Linked DNA regions of Homo sapiens: region 1 is linked to region 2. Evidence: promoter capture Hi-C in human tissues and cell types (Jung and others, 2019). All regions are on one chromosome and are shown on one strand. The core of a region is centred on a gene start or on the middle of the fragment in contact, and the rest is flanking DNA. Distances in the headings are between cores, read along the strand shown. Region 1 has its middle 26 kb from the start of JAK2. Region 2 holds the start of AK3 (adenylate kinase 3).

Region 1 (3,364 bases), core at 117-2,616, 220 kb after region 2:
GTGCTCTGCCATTTTGGGGTACTTGTTGCCATTGATCCTGGTTTCACAGAGTCTAGGATACTGCTGAGTCCCACTATCCCAGGGTCTAGAGTCACCACTGTATGATGCTTCATCCTTTGGGATATGATTTGCTACTGAGCCTTATGACTCATATTCCCAAATTGCAGCCATACCCTGCTCTGTAGGCCCAAGCCTCCAGAGTACCCCTTCTTCCCCTGAGCCAGGCCAGTGCTTTGCCCTGCCCTCCAGGGGTAGAATCACACGCTCCATGGGCCTGAGCTGCCAGAAGATGCCTGAGAGTCACAGAACCTGAGTCTGTGGGCATGATACATCCAACCTGGCCACAGAGAACAAACCTGAACCCTAAGACCCAGGTGCCACAGTGGGGTCACAAGACCCTAAGCTTAGGTCTGTGTGGCCCCTCAGCCACCCTGAGCACCTGCACCTGGAACTCAGAGCCTCTACAACTGCTTATAGGCCATGTCAGACCTGACACTAAGAGGGATCCCTTTGGCTAAGTCTCCATGTTGTGGGGAATCCCAAAATAGGAAGACCCTAAAAACTCTTGCCACTAAAGATATCAACAGCTTTCACTGCTGCTGTCACTGCCCCAAACTTCTTCAGCCTAGGTTAGTGTTAATGAATTAATTCAGCAAAGTTTCAGGATACAAAACCAACATGCAAAAATCAGTAGCATTTCTAGACACCAACAATGTACTAATGGAAAAAGAAATCAAGAATGCAATCGCAGTTATACTAGGTACAAAAACACCCCTAGGAATCAGTTTAACTAAGAGGTGAAAGATCTCTAAAAGGAAAACTATAAAACACTGATGAAAAAATTGAAGAAAACATAAATAAATGAAAAGACATGCCATGTTCATGGATTGGAAGAATTAATATTGTGAAAATAATCATACTGTCAAAAATGATCCACAGATTCAATGCAATCCCTATCAAAATACCAGTGACATTCTTCACAAAAATAGTGAAAATATAACAGCTGTACATATTTACAGGGTACGTGTGATTTTTTATATAGGCATACAATGTTTTGATCAGGGTAATTGGGGTATCCATCACCTCAAGCATTTATTATTTCTTTGTGTTAGGAGCAATTCTGTTGGCCAGTTTCTCTGGTGAAGTGCTTCTGCTGGCCAGAATGCAGAGCCACCACCAAAATTTGCATGTTAGCCACTATGAGCCCCGCCCCAGATGGCCTATCCCTGTTGATAATACCACCACCACCACCTCTGCCTGCCCTATGTTCCCCATGGGGCAAGACAGGAGTGATCTGTCTTCAAAGGGCTCCAGACTGGCGAGGAAGCTGAATGTTTGCCTCCAACTCTCTTTTCCCACAGTGGAAACTGGACCTAGGGGAGTTCTCTCTGTGTGGTGCTGTGCAGGCTTGGGGGAAGTATACTTTTCAGTCAAATTGAAGCTATTCCTTTTACCCTTTGAATGCAACTTGTCTCCATTCTCCTGTCCCAGAGGATGTCTCAGCCTTACTTTCAAGTTCTGAGGTATTCACAAAGGAATTCTTGTCCATGGATAGTTGCTAGTTGGATTTCTGTGAGGGAGACTGGAGCCAAAGAACTATTCTGACAACTTGCTCTTAGATCAAGCTTTCTTGTTTTGATTTCCTTCTCATTTCTTTTTCTGTATATTTTAAAGTTTTTTCCTTAGTGGTTATCTGGAGATTACAATTAATATCTTAACTTTACATCAGTAAAGTTTAAATTAATACCAATACCTTATTTTCAATAGTAGGTAAATACTGTACTCCTTTCCAGCCCCATCCCTTTCCCCTTTCTGTTGTTATTGTCACAATTATATCTTTATACATTGAATGCACATTAACATAGCATTTTAATAATTGTTTTATTCATTTGTCATTTAAATCATATAGAAAAGAGTTATAAACCATATATGCAATACTATTGTCCTTTATATTTACTTATGTAGCTACCTTTACCCTTGTTCTTAGTGTCCGTCCCTTTCACCCTGGAGGAGTCCCTTTAACATTTATTGTAGGGCAGGTCTACTACTGACAAACTCTCTCAATTTTTATTTTATATTATGAATATGTTTTATTTCTCCATTAAAAATAGGCTTTGTTTTCTACTCTGGTGGCTGAGGCACAAGAATCCCTTGAACCTGGGAGGCACAGGTTGCAGTGAGCCAAGATTCTGCCACTGCACTCCAGCCTGGGCAACAGGGTGAGAACGAGAGACTCCATCCTCCACCCCCACCCCTGGCAAAAAAAAGGCTTTGTTTTTAATAGTAGTAGTGAGCATTTTGCATTCCTACCAGCAATCAATGAGTTCCTGTTACTCTACATCCTTGCCAGCATTTGGTGCAGTGAGTGTTTTGGAGTTTGGTCATTCTTATAGGTAGGTAGTAGTATCTTATTGTTTTAATTTGCAATTCCTAGTGAATCTATATGTGTCTTTGTATTTAAAGTGCTTTTTTTATTTTGTAGACAACATATATTTGGGTCTTATTTTCTTTCTTTCTTTCTTTGTTTCTTTTTTGGTGGGGGACAAGGTCTCACTCTGTTGCCTAGACTGTAGTGTAGGGGCATGATCGTAGCTCACTGCAGCCTCCAACTCCTGGGCTCAAGCAACCCTCCTGCTTCAGTTTCCCCAGTAGCTAGGACTACAGGCAAGTGCCACCACACACAGCTAATTTTTAAATTTTGTGTAGAGACGGGGTCTCACTATGTTACCTAGGCTGGTCTTGAACTTCTGGTCTAAAGCAATCCTCCCATCCTGGCCTTCCTAAACACTAGGATTACAGGCATGAGCCACTGTGCACAGCCTAGGATCTTTTAATTCACTCTGGTAATCCTTTTAGTTGGTGTATTTAGACCATTGATTAGTGATTATTAATATAGTTGGATCAATTTCTACCATATTTGTTACTGTTATCCATTTTTCCATTTGTTTTTTTCCTATTTTTGTCTGCCATTCTTTCTCTACCTTTTGTGGTGTTAATTGAACATTTTATATGATTCCATTTTCTCTCCTTTCTTAGCATACCATTCTACTTTTTTAAAGGCTTTTTTTTGGTAGTTCCCCTAGCATTTGCAATATACATTTATAGCTAATCCAAGTCTCAAATAATGCTATACTGCTTTATGGATAGTACCAGTACTGTTTAACAACAGAATAATTCTAACTTCTCCCTCCAATACCTTGTGTTATTATGGTCATTCATTTCACTTTTACATAAGTATACATAGAATATATCTATATGTATATAAACATACATAATTAAATACTTCGTTGCTATTTTGACCTCCTAAAGGTCAAGCTGGGATTATAGGACTGAGCCACCACACCCAGCCTGAAAAATAAATTTT
Region 2 (2,500 bases), core at 1-2,500:
TTTCTAGAAGGAAAACTCTGTTCCCCTCCGAAGAATGGGACTGAGGTAGGGAACGAAAGAGGGCGTTGTTTTTTATGCTATGCACGTCTATCCTGTTTGCTATCCTTACAAAAAAAAAAAAAAAAAGAAGGAAAACAAAAGAAAAAGGCCTTGTGGAAGCATTATTTCTATGTAAATGGGTTTCAAAATGAGTTTCAAAACGGGTTCTATTTTGAAAAGTAAGGTCAACATTTTTTGAGAAAAAAACTCCTGCGATTGGCTTTTCAAAAACAACCCTCTTAAGAGAGAATTTACATACCACAAATTCACCCATTGTATAGTGTAGATTGTTAACTGCCTTTCGTGCCGAGCTGTAAGAATTTATTTGGCATGAGAAACAAAATATTTTATAGAACCATGCACAAGAATAGCCTTCGTGTCTACGAAATCTAAGGATATCAAAATGAGATAATTTTATGACTGCAACAAGGGTAAATAATACTTGGCCTTGGGAATATGGGGGAAAGGTCAGAACTACAAGATCTCATAGAGCTTAACCACACCAAAAAAGAAAGAGAAAAGAAAGAAACAAAGAAAACAAAACAGAACGAGCAGACTCTAGCAGGGCTAATGACAGTCTTCCAAAGGCACCAGCACGTTGAACAAGCTGCGGCTCAGCTCGATGGACCCCCAAGAGTGGCTGCCACTGGGAGGACTTGGGCCTCTGAAACAAAGCCCGGTGGTTTCCTTTCATCTCTGAACTTCGAGCTCGACCTAACTTTCCAGTCCCTTCCCCCACCGCCACCCCATAACCCGCCCGAAGCGGCCCACGGAGGCCGGAGGTTTTGGGGCGCAGTCGCTCAGCAGCCCGAGGTCTCTGTCCCGGGCGGCGGGAGGGAAATGCCGCGCCCGCAGCCAGGGACCCGCGTGCCCAGCTTCGGCCCCTCGCCCGCGAAGTCCGACCCGGGTGACAGCGCACGGCCGGCCCTGGGCCCAGAGCTCCCACCTGTGCCCCGCAGCATGTTGTCCCGGAGCAGGTCCCCGCTGGAGAGGTGCTTCAGCTCGAAGTGTGTAGTGATGCGCGACGACACGGTGCCCTTGCCCGAGCCCGGGGCCCCCATGATCACCGCTCGCAGCAGCCGCGCGGACGCCCCCATGGCCGCAGACTGAGGCCCGCACCGCGCGGGTACCAGGGCTTTGGCCTGGCCTGCGCGCTCACCCGCTCGGCAGCCTGCGCCGGCCGGCTAGCAGCGCCACTAGCAGGCGGCTACTGCGGTTCCCCGGCGTTCCCGGAAGTGAGCCGACAGCCCCTGGGGCCGCCCAGACAGCGCGGGACCCCGCTGTTGCGTCCGCCTCTCGGCTACCCCGGCGCACCCCCCGCCCCCGACCGAGCGCCTGTTCCCGCCCAGCCGCGCAAGCCGCGCAAGCCGCGCCCCCTCTGCGCTCGCTCGGCCGCCCAGCTCCCACCTGCGCCTCTCCGCGGCCCCTCTCCACCGGCCGCTGGGCCCGGATCCCTTCGGCGCCCCTCTGCACCCACCCCCACGCGCCCTCCACTCGGCTCAGATCTACCTCCGCGCCTCTCCGCGACCCCGGAACCCCGCGCCCTGTCCGGCCCATTCCCAGCCGGATAGACCGCGCTCCCCTCTGTCCGACCTTGGCAACTCCTGCGCGCCCCCTCCCCACCTCTAGTCGCCCCTCGGAGCCGCTTGGTTTCGGGATCCACCCGCATCCACCCCTCCAACAACCCTTTCGTAGCCCTCGCCCCTAGTCCATAGCAGGCGCTGCCCTACCCAGTCCTTGCCGGACACACCGCGACCCCTTTCGTGCTCCCTTGACAACCCTGGCCCCACCTCCACCTGGCGCCCACTCGAATCCGCCCCTCCCTTCTACCCCCCTGGACCGCCAGACCCCCCGCTTCTGCACCCACTCCCGCCTTCGCCCTTCCCTCCTTCCTCCTCCTCCTCTGCTGCCGAGCGCCCTCTCTTCCCACTCCCTCTCTGTGTAGAATCACAGGGAGTGACCTTGAGCCGAGAGGGCCTACCTCATTTTACAGGAGAGGAAATCCAGCTTCCATTGAGTGAGACTCTTTTATAAATAACGTAAAAGAGTGTGTGAAACTGTGGAGGCAGGCTGTTGTAGATAGGCGGTCGGAAAAGCTTTGAAGAGATGGCATGTGTGCTGAGTGCTTAATTAGAATATGGAAGAGAGAGACATGGGCCCTTCCTATGTCCAGTTTTAGGAAAAGGCCCTAAAACTGGAGGTTTGGCATGTTTCAAGAATGGAAACAGAGGACAAAAACGTTCGAGTGAGTATCATTTTGCCTGTAAAATGGGCATAGAGGAGTAGAATGGAGGAGTTAAAATAATGTAGTACTTAGTGCAATGCCAGCTACGGGGTCAATGTTCAATAATGGTTGTCCATTTATCATCATTGCTTTGTCCCGGACACTATGCTAAGGCAGAAAGAAGGCTCTCTGAAAATAAAACACAGTTACCATTCTCCTCAGAGGTCCAGAACTGAT

Evidence for each region. The method cuts DNA at HindIII sites, captures the fragments that hold promoters and counts their contacts. A contact is called where the count stands out against the background at its distance.
Region 1: a fragment that was not itself captured here is called in contact with the fragment with the promoter of AK3 in region 2 in 1 of the 25 tissues and cell types used here (lymphoblastoid cells).

What each region holds. Positions count from the first base shown.
Region 1 is chr9:4,958,024-4,961,387 of GRCh38, forward strand. No RefSeq gene overlaps it. Among named protein-coding and RNA genes, the nearest start is that of JAK2, 26 kb to the right of the region's middle. The HindIII fragment of the contact is 6,432 bases long and covers 1-3,364 here.
Region 2 is chr9:4,739,952-4,742,451 of GRCh38, forward strand. It overlaps AK3 (adenylate kinase 3), which reads right to left and starts at 1,251. Exons shown (of 5, transcript NM_016282.4): 1 at 986-1,251. The coding sequence starts at 1,136. RefSeq lists silencers at 781-920, 1,151-1,640. The HindIII fragment of the contact is 7,449 bases long and covers 1-2,500 here.